Regions from separate parts of the Homo sapiens genome. Here region 1 is linked to region 2. Evidence: promoter capture Hi-C in human tissues and cell types (Jung and others, 2019). All regions are on one chromosome and are shown on one strand. Each heading gives the region's core, a stretch centred on a gene start or on the middle of the fragment in contact. The rest is flanking DNA. Distances are from core to core; before and after follow the strand shown.

Region 1 (6,323 bases), core at 2,631-5,130, 36 kb before region 2:
CACTACTTGGGATAGCAGCTCACTGCAACCTCGAACTCCTGGGCTCAAGGGATCTTTCCATCTCAGCCTCCCAAGTAGCTGGGAGTACAGGCACACATCACCACACCCACCTAATTTTTTTATAGAGAGGGTCTCACCATCTTGCTTGGGCGGGTCTCAAACTCCTGGGCTCAAGCAATCCTCCTGCCTCAGTCTCCCAAAGTGTTGGGATTACAGGCATAAGCCACTGTGTCTGGCTGCAGTTTGTTTCTTTGGCTTAGCTACCAACAGCTCACCCACATATGATGAATTATTTACATATACTATGGGGTCAGAAGACACCAACAATGAAGACATTTCAGCCAGGTGCGGTGGCTCACGCCTGTAATCCCAGCACTTTGGGAGGCCGAGACGGGTGGATCAAGAGGTCAGGAGTTCAAGACCAGCCTGGCCAAGATGGTGAAACCCCATCTCTACTAAAAAAATACAAAAAAATTAGCTGGGTGTGGTGGCAGGTGCCTGTAATCCCAACTACTTGGGAGGCTGAGGCAGAGAACTTTTTGAACCTGGGAGGCAGAGGATGCAGTAAGCCGAGATCATGCCACTGCGCTCCAGCCTGGGTGACAGAGCAAGACCACGTCTCAAAAAAAAAACCAAAAAGCAAAAAACAAACAAAAATGACATTTCAGTATCAAAAGCTAGTTTACGTATGACTTACTTGAAAGATTTTAATTCTCCATAGCACCTCAGTGTGATTAAGTAACAAAGGTCAGGTCTCTTCGGGAACCAGGACATCTATCTTCTCCTCCCCTTGGCAATCAGAGCTCCTAGTTCTTAGGCCTTTGGTCTCAGACTGAATGACACCACCAGCTTTCCTGGTTCTCGGGCTTGCAGACAGCATATTGTGGAACTTCTCAGCCTCCATAACTAAATGAGCCAAGTCCTAATCCCCTCTTATATATTTACCCTACTGGTTGTTTCTCTGGAGAATGCTAATACAGATTTTTTTTTTTTTTCAGGCACAGTCTCGCCCTGTCGCCAGCCTAGAGCGCAGTGGCGCGATCTCGGCTCACCGCAACCTCCACCTCTCGGGTTCAAGCGATTCTCCTGCCTCAGCCTCCCGAGTAGCTGGGACTACAGGCACGCGCCACCACGCCCAGCTAACTTTTGTATTTTTTAGTAGAGAAGGGGTTTCACTATGTTGGCCAGGATGGCCTTGATCTCTTGACCTTGTGATCCACACACCTCGGCCTCCCAAAGTGCTGGGATTACAGGCATGAGCCACCATGCCTGGCCTCTAATATAGATTTTATATTTAGTATTAAATAAAACAAACTGTCCCAAGGATACTACATTGAGCTGAATTTTTCTAGGTCCAGTACTGAGTTATATACTACTTTTGATGATTAAGAAACTAAGTGCAGGCCGGGTGCGGTGGCTCACGCCTATAATCCCAGCACTCTGGGAGGCCAAGGTGGGCAGATCACAAGGTCAGGATATCGAGACCATCCTGGCTAACACAGTGAAACCCCATCTCTACTGAAAATACAGAAACAAAATTAGCCAGGCGTGGTGGCAGGCACCTATAGTCCCAGCTACTCGGGAGGCTGAGGCGGGGGAATGGCGTGAACCCCATTGGCAGAGCTTGCAGTGAGCCGAGATCACGCCACTGCACTCTGGTCTGGGCGACAGAGCGAGACTCCATCTCAGGAAAAAAAAAAAGAAAGAAACTAAGTGTAGTCTGGACATGATAGCTCATGGTTCTAATCCCAGCACTTGGGAGGCCAAGGTGGGAGGATCATTGGAGCCCAGGAGTTTGGGACCAACCTGGACAACATAGGGAGACCCCGTCTCTATAAAAAATGAAAAAAGTAGCCAGGCATGATGATGCGAACCTGTGGTCCTACCTACTCAAGAGGCTGAGATGGGCCGGGCATGGTGGCTCACACCACTTTGGGAGGCCATGGCAGGCAGATCACTTGAGGCCAGAAGTTCGAGACCAACCTGGCCAACATGGTGAAACCCCGTCTCTACTGAAAATTCAAAAATTAGCCTGGTGTGGTGGTACATGCCTGTAATCCCAGCTATTCAGGAGGCTGAGGCACAAGAATCACTTGAACCCAGGAGGTGGAGGTTACAGTGAGCCGAGATCATGCCACTGAACTCCAGCCTGGGTGACAGAGCAAGCCTCCCATCTCAAAAAAAATAAAAGAGGCTGAGATGGGAAGACTGCCTGAGCCCAAGGGGTGGAGACTGCAGTGAGCCGTGATCACACTATATTCGAACCTGGATGACACAGTGAGAACCTGTCTCAAAAAAAAAAAGAAAGAAAGAGAAACACAAAAAAGTGGGATCTCTGTCTCAAAACAAAACTAAGTGTAATACAGGTTCTTGGCTATCTTGCCTACTGCTTAGTTGAATGACCAAAGAAAAAAACAAATTTTTCAGTAGTCTGTATGCCTAGAAAACCTCAGTTAAAAACCAGAGGAAGTTAAAGCTGTTGCCTAAAAATGTGCCCTTGAGGCAGGGCACGGTGGGTCACGCCTGTAATCCCAGCACTTTGGGAGGTGGAGGTGGGCGTATCACCTGAGGTCGGGAGTTCGAGACCAGCCTGACCAACATGGAGAAACCCCATCTCTACTAAAAATACAAAATTAGCTGGGCACATGGTGCATGTGGTGGCACATTCCTATAATCCCAGCTACTTGGGAGGCTGAGACAGGAGAATCGCTTGAACCTGGGAGGTGGACATTGCAGTGAGCCGAGATCGCGCCATTGCACTCCAACCTAGGCAACAAGAGTGAAACTCCAACTAAAAAAAAAAAAAGTGTCCTTGAGAATATCTTTGGATTGATTTCACCTGTCTATACTTTGCCTGCTTGCCCTTTTGTGTGTATAATCAATAACAGACTTTTCAAAGATCAGGAATGAACTTTTGTTTTTTCCACTTTTTGGTCTCTGTGAATCTAAGGAATGAACTCTTAACTAGAGTCTTGTCCATATCTTGGTAAAGATGCCCTCTGCCCTTTTCAGTTAGGCCGCAATGTAACAAACTCAGTCCATGACTGAATTTAATCTAACCAGCCCAGTATTTCCTTCCTGGGATCCACCAGCACCAAATATAATAAAACTTCAATTTGGAAGTCGGGCACCACGGTGCACACCTGTAGTCCCTTCGGTGGCTGGGTCAGGAGTACTGCTTGAGTCCGGGAGTTCAAGGCCAGCCTGGGCAATATAATTGGGACGGCACCCTGTCTCAAAACAAAACAAAATAAAATCACCTTCAAGTTGGTCTTTTCTTAACAACTTTATTTTTTCTTTCTCCAATACCTCATCTTGAGCATTCTTCTTTTGATTAATAATAGCATACTGGTGTTTGGATCCCCTTCACAACCAGAAAGATAAAAAAAGCCTCTCAGGGTAGATATAGGAAAACTTCAAATCATTTCAAATAGGGTTCCTGAAATTTCTTGGAGAAAATAATAAGCTATATTAGAAATTCAGAGAAAGGAAGAATTCAGAGACCTTGGCTCTCGGTCTGGCTTCACTACCAAATCACTTAAGTTATTTAGATAATCACAGGCCATTAGTTTTCCCTACTTCAGAGAAATGCTGAGACCGATGTTCATTTAATTCACTGGATAAAAACTATCCAAAAGTAAGACTATTTATCTTTTTTTATCTTTTTTTTTTTTTAGATGGAATTTCGTTCCTGTTGCCCAGGCTGGAGTGCAATGGCACAATCTCGGCTCACTGCAACCTCTACCTCCTGGGTTCAAGCGATTCTCCTGCCTGGGCTTCCCAAGTAGCTGGGATTATAGGCACGCACCACCACACCCAGCTAATTTTTGTATTTTTAATAGAGATGGGGTTTCTCCATGTTGGTCAAGCTGGTCTTGAACTCCCGAACTCAGGTGATCCGCCTGCCTCAGCTTCCCAAAGTCCTGGGATTACAGGCGTGAGCCACCGCGCCTGGCAAATATTTATCTTAATACTGGAAATGATTCTTGGGCTGAAGAAACGCTTGTTTTTGTGTGTGTGTTTTTTTGTTTGTTTGTTTTGCTTTTATGTGGAGTCTCACTCTGTCACCCAGGCTGGAGTGCAGTCCAACGATCTCAGCTCACTGCAACCCCCACTTCCTGGGTTCAAGCAATTCTCCTGCCTCAGCCTCCTGAGTAGCTGGAATTACAGGCCTGTGCCACCATGCCCAGCTAATTTTCATATTTTTAGTAGAGATGAGGTTTCACCATGTTGGTCAGGCTGGTCTTGAACTCCTGGCCTCAAGTGATCCGTCCGCCTCAGCCTCCTGAAGTGTTGGGATTACAAGCATGAGTCACCACATCTGGCCCAAACTCTTGTCTTAACCTTTTGTGAGACGTTTTATGTATTTACAGATCATGAAATCTCTAATGAAGTAAACTTCTAAGATCTGACTAAACAAAAGGACCATCAAGTGTTCACAGAATGCTAACATATAGAACAAAGTTTAAAGAAGATACAAAGGCCTGGACTCTAAAAAATAAATGAACAATTCAAATGTCTGGTTTAAAACAAACAAAAAGATGGATTAAAAGTTTGTATCGGAAAGGTAACTTTGTTTTGAATGGTTTTGACAATCTCATACCTCCTGCAGTATCAAATACAGTCTGGGTAATTAATTCAGTGGACTCTTTCCCTTTTACTGCCAGACTGAACAGCTCTGAGGATAATCTCCCTCACTCTCCCAGGGCTCAGTTGGAAGATTCATTATTTATGCCCTCAATTGTTTACTCTGTCCTATTTTTCCACACGTCCAGCAGGCCCAAGAGCTGTGTTACCACTGGCCTGTTTCCAAAATGAATGCATTACTCATTGCCCTATTAGTTACAAAACCAAAATAATCAAACACAGTGGTGTCTTAACGTTGGAAAGCAACCCCACCAACCATTTGATCTAGGAGAGAAATTAATAACAATGCCAGCCCAGGTTACCAAAAGCTAAATTGTCCTGGATGAAGAGAGAACCATACATCATTCCAGTCCTTTATTTTGAGCCACTGAACAACACACATGCATATCCAACAAGGATTCTTAAAGGACAGTATCATTAGAAAGACAGCTCTGGCCTTCACTGAGAACAGACTGTAAACTACTAAGGGTTAAACTGATTGAGAGAAAATTTGCCTAAGCAACCATTCTTTAGGAAGAGTTCAGTAACTCACCAACAATAAATTCTACATCCTCATCTGAGTGGTAAACAGATTACAGACTCCATCAAGTCCTCTACTTTCAGGATTCAGACTCATAGCAAACAACTTCCTCAAAAGATTCAGCTTCCAAGAGTCAAACCCTGGGGGAGGGGATTGTGCTTAAACACACAAAATATTGTCTCTGACACCTGACTGAAAAAGCTGAAAAGCTAAAAACTACCATCACCCACATCTCCATATGAATGCATCCATTGTTCTAAATAAGTCTCTGACAATTGACAGAGCATTCTCAGAGTCTCCTGTGCCTCTAATATTTTCTCACCTAGAGTAAGCTTTTCCCAATTCCAAACCTTACAACACTCAAGCTGATTATTCTGAGAATCAAGCAATGCCAAGGGCCCAATATTTTTCTTTCACCTTCTCAAGGGGATCATTTTATACTTCTGATGTGAACAGGGGATTAGTCTCGAGTCTCCCTTTAGAGAGAACATAGAGTCCTTTTTCTTAACACATTCCAAGCCGTGACTCACAGAAATAAGCAGGATGGGCCGGGCACGGTGGCTCATGCCTGTAATCCCAGCACTGTGGAAGGCCGAGGCAGGTGGACCATCTGAGGTCAGTTTGAGACCACCCTGGCCAACATGGTGAAACCCTGTCTCTACTGAAAATACAAAAATTAGCCAGGCGTGCTGGTGCGTGTCTGTAGTCCCAGCTACTCAGGAGGCTGAGGCAGGAGAACTGCTTGAACCTGGGAAGCAGAGGCTGCAGTGAGCAGAGAGATTGTGCCACTGCATTCCAGCCTGGGTGACAGAGCGAGACTCCGTCTCAAAAAAAAAAAAAAAAAGAGAGAGAGAGAGAAATGAAATAAGCAGGTTGGATAAAAACAGACTGCTAAAGAAAATTAAATCAACTGCTTTAACCTCAACCAGCACTATGCCCCCTCAACCTAAGAGATTATGGCTTTCTATAATTGTTTCCTTGCAGATGACCAAATTCCAGGATTTCCATGCCCCTTAAATGATATTTGAACATCAGTGCAAATACATTTATGATTAGTTCTATACATAGTCTTCTGTCTCCTGGGAAAATTCTTTCACGAACCCCTAATTATTGCACCATGCAAAACAGTGATCACACAAATCAGTCAAAAAAATAG
Region 2 (6,670 bases), core at 3,161-5,660:
ACCATCCTGGCTAACACGGTGAAACCTCATCTCTACTAAAAATACAAAAAATTAGCCGGGCGTGGTGACGGGCACCTGTAGTCCCAGCTACTCAGGAGGCGGAGGCAGGAGAATGGCGTGAACCTTGGAGGCGGAGCTTATAGTGAGCCGAGATCGCGTCACTGCACTCCAGTCTGGGCGACAGAGACTCCATCTCAAAATAAATAAATAAATAAATAGAATTTAAAAACAAAAAAAAGATTTTTGGCTGGGCGCGGTGGCTCACACCTGCAATCCCAGCACTTTGGGAGGCCGAGGCAGGCGGATCACCTGAGGTCGGCAGTTCGAGACTAGCCTGGCCAACATGGTGAAACGTCATCTCTACTAAAAATACAAAAATCAGCCAGGTATGGTGGTACGCGCCTGTAATCCCAGCTACTCAGGAGGCTGAGACCAGAGAATCACTTGAACACAGGAGGCAGACGTTGCAATCAGCTGAGATCTCGCCATTGCACTCCAGCCTGGGCAACAGAGTGAAACTTGGTATCAAAAAAAATAAAATAAGGCCGGGCATGGTGGCTCATGCCTGTAATCCCAGCACTTTGGGAGGCTGAGTCGGGCAGATCACAAGGTCAGGAGATCGACACCATCCTGGCTAACACGGTGAAACCCCGTCTCTACTAAAAATATGAAAAGAAATTAGCCAGGCATGGTGGCGGGTGCCTGTAGTTCCAGCTACTAGGGAGGCTGAGGCAGGAGAATGGCGAGAACCCGGGAGGCGGAGCTTGCAGTGAGCCGAGATCGCGCCACTGCAATCCAGTCTGGGCAACAGAGCAGGACTCCGTCTCAAAAAATAATAATAATGATAATAATAAGCCAATAAATATTTATTTTAGCCCCTGGTATGTCAGAGATTCACAGGAAGTCCTTAAATCTCCAAAGTTCCTCTCCCACTTTAGAAAAACTTCTCACACGAAAGGCAATCAAGATACTAGCCCACCCCTTTTTCTTCCCCAGGGAAAGAAATCCTCATTTTGTAAGGTCATTTACTACATAAAAGTAACCACAAGTAGGAAAGATAACAGAAGGAGAGGAGGACAGGAAATTCTCATCACAGCTGAACAAACCTCTATTATTTTAACATAACATGGGTGGCATTTATGCGCTTATTTGAACTGATGGAAATTTCCAGTAGGGGGAAAAATGCATTACCAACATTAAAAATAAATGTCCAACTATTAAAAAATAAAATAAGATAGCTATGCCCAGCTTTAACATTTTATACTCTACTCCATGTAGTAGTCAAACATGGAATAAATTTCTGTAATGACCTATCACAATAGTAACAAATGCTTTATTTTTAAAACTATTATCTTAAACAAAGTATTATAGACAAATAATCTATTGGGACGGTCAAGGAACTAAAGTAAAAAGGTTAAAATTATACATCACTGTGCATTTCCAGGAAAGAAAAGTGAAACACATTTTACCAGACAGAGAAGTTAAAAACAACCAGGTTCATTTTTCCCATTCCTGTAAATTCACTCCCCTTATTTGTGAATCTTCAAGAATCTAGTATAGCCCCTCCCTACCTTTACTCAGGTAAAAGACCAATCACTCATCAATTGCCAAAACGCCTTGACAGTTTAAGGTCTCAATCCTCAGAGTCAGCAAAGCTGAAGTGTCTATGTCCTTTTAAAAGGAGTCTGCATCTCTACTTTAGAAACCATTTTCTCACTGCGCTTGGTGGCTTACGCCTGTGATCCCAGCACTTTGGGAGGCCGAGGCAGGCGGATCACCTGGTTCGAAACCAGCCTGACCAAAATGGCGAAACCCCATCTCTACTAAAAATACAAAAACTAGCCGGGCATGGTGGTGGGTGCCTGTAATCGCAACTACTTGGAGGCTGAGGCAGGAGAACTGCTTGAACCCGGGAGGTGGAGGTTGCAATGAGCCGAGATTGCGCTACTGCACTCCAGCCTGGGCGACAGAACAAGACTCTGTGTCAAAACAAAATAAAATAAAAAGAACCCATTTTCTCTTTCCATAAACACATAGTTTGTCCTCTGCTTTGTCTACATTAAAAAACACGTCTCAGGAGTGTTTCTTCAGCCTCTCAGGAAAACCAAGACACCTCTTGGGCTCCTCTTCTGAGATATTCCACCTGAGAGATCCCACTGACAAGCAGGGTAACAAAAAGCAGAGCTAGAGGGCTGCCTTATGCATATCTGACCTCCAAAACAGCGACAGGTCCCCGGAGCAGCCAGAGACTCCTTTGCAAAGGAGAACTTTTTATAATTTAAAAATAATAAAATGGGCCAAGCACGGTGGTTCACGCCTGTAATCCCAGCACTTTGGGAGGCTGGGGCGGGCGGATCACCTGAGGTCAGAAGTTTGAGACCAGCCTGTCCAGCAATGGAGAAACCCCGAGTGTACTAAAAAAAATACAAAAATTAGCCGGGTATGGTGGCACGTGCCTATAATCCCAGGTACTAGGGAGGCTGAGGCAGGAGAATTGCTTGAACCCAGGAGGCGGAGGTTGCAGTGAACCAAGTTCGCACCACTGCACTCCAGCCTGGGTGACAGAGCAAGACTCCTTCACCCACCTCAAAAAAAATTATAATAAAATAAAATAAAAATAAAGATAACAAAATAGCCAGGCACGGTGGCTCACGCCTGTAATCCCGGCACTTTGAGAGGCCGAGGTGGGTGGATCACCTGACGTGAGGAGTTCAAGACCAGCCTGGCCAACATGGTGAAACCCCATCTCTACTAAAACTACAAAAATTAGCCAGGCGTGGTGGTGGGCATTTGTAATCCCAGCTACTCAGGAGGCTGAGACAGGAGAATCGCTTGAACCCGGGAGGCGGAGGTTGCTGTGAGCCGAGATGATGCCACTGCACTCCTGCCTGGCGACAGAGCGAGACTCCGTCTCAAAAATAAAATAAAATATAATAAACAAATTATATTTTCACATCCCTCACTGGGCAGCCCTCCCAGCTTGTCTCAAACTAGTTTTCTTAACTCTTTTTTCCAGACGGAGTCTCGCACTGTCACCCGAACTGGAGTGCAATAGCACTATCTCGGCTCACCGCAACCTCTGCCTCCCGGGTTCGAGTGATTCCCCTGCCTCAGCTTCCCAAGCAGCTGGGATTACAGGCGCCCGCCACCACACCCGGCTGATTTTTTGTATTTTTAGTAGAGACGGGATTTCACTACGTTGGCTAGGCTGGTCTCCAACTTCTGACCTCGTGATCCGCCCGCCTCGGCCTCCCAAAGTGCTGGGATTACAGACATGAGCCACTGCACCCGGCCTTTTCTCAACTCGTTAAAGCACATTAGTGCCAACTGTGTTATAAGGCAACATGAGTTAGCTATGTTCAGAAAATATTTTAATAGATTGGCCCTCCATCCTTTCGGGTGAGGAGCTGCAAACCGTTTGTAAAAACGCCGGAGTACGGTATTTTTCCTACAGAAGTCTGATGGCTAATTTATCACATTACAGAACTGGTAGTTCTGCACATGGTCTGCTGTGCCCATAAAGAAAGCACATATGTGTCTACTGAGGTTTTACAAACAATACGCTTCTTATCTTAACAGAGAAATCAGTCATTCCATTAACAACGGTAAGGTCTAAATTCCACTAACATTGTTGGTGATACATTAACATCAACATAGTACTTACAATTCACAATTTGCATAAACAATCTCAATTACATAGGTGATGCTTGCAATAGCCCGTTTGAAGCATGACATCTTCCTGGTGTTCAGAAAGGTTAAGTGGGACCTGCCCAAGGTTACCTAACAGCTTTATCAATGGTGGACTTCCTTTCGAACCTGCCTGACTCTAAGCCCCTAGCTCTTTTCCCTAGACCCCTCCCGGCTTTCAAAAGAGGGTTCCCGACTCCCATCCTCTACCCAGAGCAGCCTATTACTCCGGGAGACCGACCCTTCCCCTGCCTGGTTCAGAGGTGGCTTCTTAAGCTCCAGCAGAGCTTTCATCCTCCACCACCCTCCCCCCGCAATCATTCTCTGAAAGAAGCGGAAAGGAGAGGCGACCAAAAGCTCCTGGAGGAAGGGATGATACAAATGGGCTGCTTCACTCCACAGCACGCAACCCCGTCCCCCTCCACCAAGCTGTCCAGCTCTGCGGCCGGCGACCGGGCCACCCGTGCCCCAAATTCTCCCATCATCACCTCAAACTGTACCTCCCCCACGCCCTTCCGTCTCCCACAGTCAGAGCCCACCCCACAAAGTCATGTATCCTTCCGCTAAGTTACCCTCTTCCCACGCGTTGTCCACTCCCCCTCCACCACTACTCACGGTCGGTGACTGGGCCCGGCCCTCATGGCTGCTCCTTTGCCGCCCGCCGCCCGCCGCCACCACTTCTCCACTGCCCGGCCCCTCAGTCACCGGCGCAGCTGTGGGGACTACCCGGAGCCGCTCCTGCGCCTGCGCAGCGTGTAGCGCCTGGGCCCTTTCGGGCCGCACGCGCCTGCGCAGCCCCTGCCGGGGGCGTCTTCCTCAGTGCCTGATGGTCTGGACCCCTGGGTCTCTAGTGGACATGGGAGCTGGCCTTGAAGAATTCTGAGGCTTAGAGAATTTGGCGGCTGCCTCAGGGTACGCCTCTGGAGTACCGTGCCTAGGTTACTAAACCCTTGGATCGCGCTTCCCCAAGGAGCCACAGACTTACTGGCTCTTCCAGAATTCTGCATCCTACTTGCACTTAAAGGCCTGAATTCAGGTGCTCTGAGGTGACCACTGATGATAAATTTGGGTCTTTTTTTTTTTTTTTCTGAGTCGAAGTTTCGCTCTTGTTGTCCAGGTTGGAGTGCAATGGCGTGATCTCGGCTCAAACAACCTCCGCCTCCCGGGTTCAAGCGATTCTCCTGCCTCAGCCTCCCGAGTAGCTGGGATTACAGGCATGCACCACCACGCCCAGCTAATTTTGTATTTTTAGTAGAGACGGGGTTTTATCATGTTGGTCAGGCTGGTCTCGAACTCCCGACCTCAGGTGATCCACCCACCTCAGCCTTCTAAAGCGCTGGGATTACAAGCATGAGCCACCGCGCCCAGCCTGGGTCTTTTTTTTTTTTTTTTTTTTTTGAGACGGAGTTTTGCTCTTGTTGCCCAGGCTGGAGTGCAGTGGCGCGATCTCAGCTCACTGCAACCTCCGCCTCCCGGGTTCAAACGATTCTCCTGCCTCAGCCTCCTGACTAGCTGGGATTACAGGCTTGCACCACCACGCCTGGCTAACTTTTGTATTTTTAGTAGAGACGGGGTTTCACCATGTTGGCCAGGCTGGTCTCGAACTCCTGACCTCAGATGATTCGCCCGCCCCGGCCTCCCAAAGTGCTGGGATTACAGGCCTGAGTCACCATGCCTGGTAAAATTTGGGTCTCTTTCAAGATGATCGTGTCTAGAATGTATCGGGGGTAATTATGTAAAGGCAGCTTTGCCATCCTAGAATACGCTACTAGCTAGGAGGTGCAATGAAGTCCTGGGGACCTTGTCAAGGAGGTGACCTCGCCTAGAATGCACTGGGGACACCGCTAAGTTCAGTATGTTTATCAAGCACATGCTGTTTATTGGACAGAAATGTTCTAGGCATCGCGTGTATGCTATTGAGGAATTCGCAGGCAAATAGTCCCCTGCTTTCCAGCTCTCACTGTGAGCCTGGCCCTTTTTCAAACTGGTAAAAGAAAACCACTAAAGTCCAGTGAGGCCCAACTGTCAGTCCCTAGACTACTGTGCTGCTTTGGCATAGCCTGACAAGAGACTAAGCTCAATCGAGTCCTGAGAATTCAACAAAACAGACTTGAAAGCAGCAGGCAAGAGGAGGTACAGGACTAAACTCTCTCCTCATCACCATGGCTCTTTTTTCTCTCTCAACTCCAGCGCTGGTCTCCTCTCTTCAGAGTTTGGACACATAAGGCCCAAGATACAACGTAAGGGGGAAAAAGAGAAGAAAAAAAGACAAGTTGAGTGCTCAATGAGGAATGTTAAAAAAATTTAAATAGGCCAGGTGCAGTGGCTCACGCCTGTAATCCCAGCACTTTGGGAGGCCGAGGCGGGCGGATCATGAGGTCAGGAGATCGAGACCATCCTGGCTAACACGGTGAAACCCCGTCTCACTAAAAATACAAAAAATTAGCCGGGCGTGGTGGCGGGCGCCTGTAGTCCCAGCTACTCAGGAGGCTGAGGCAAGAGAATGGCGTGAACCCGGGAGGCGGAGCTTGCAGTGAGCCGAGATCAAGCCACTGCATTCCAGCCTGGGCGACAGAGCGAGACTCCGTCTCAAAAGAAAAAAAAATTAAAAATAAAGCTGGGCATAGTGACTTATGCTTGTAATCCCAACATTTTGGGAGGCCAGGTTGGGAGGATTGCTTGAGCCCAGGAGTTAGAGACCAGCCTGGGCAACATAGGGAGACTCATCTCTACAAAAAATCTAAAAAATAGTGGCCAGGCAAGATAGCTCATGCCTGTAAACCCAGCACTTTGGGAGGTTAAGGCGGGCGGATCACTTGAAGCCAGGAATTCGAGACCAGCCTGGCCAACACGGTGAAACCCTGTCTCTACTGAAAAAATACAAAAATTATCTGGGCATGGTGGCATGCACCTGTAGTCCCAGCTACTCAGGAGGCTGAGGCAGGAAAATCGCTTGAACCCAGGAACGGAGGTTACAATGAGC

What was found. Contacts are between HindIII fragments. The study calls those that stand out against the background at their distance.
Region 1: a contact is called between a fragment that was not itself captured here and the fragment with the promoter of FAM222B in region 2, in 1 of the 25 tissues and cell types used here (adrenal gland).

What each region holds. Positions count from the first base shown.
Region 1 is chr17:28,803,359-28,809,681 of GRCh38, forward strand. The region is part of intron 1 of FAM222B (family with sequence similarity 222 member B); the gene reads right to left. Among named protein-coding and RNA genes, the nearest start is that of FAM222B, 36 kb to the right of the region's middle. RefSeq lists an enhancer at 5,383-6,323. The HindIII fragment of the contact is 5,160 bases long and covers 1,301-6,323 here.
Region 2 is chr17:28,838,380-28,845,049 of GRCh38, forward strand. It overlaps FAM222B (family with sequence similarity 222 member B), which reads right to left and starts at 4,411. Exons shown (of 3, transcript NM_001077498.3): 1 at 4,303-4,411. RefSeq lists enhancers at 1-148, 3,990-4,504 and a silencer at 4,190-4,379. The HindIII fragment of the contact is 21,274 bases long and covers 1-6,670 here.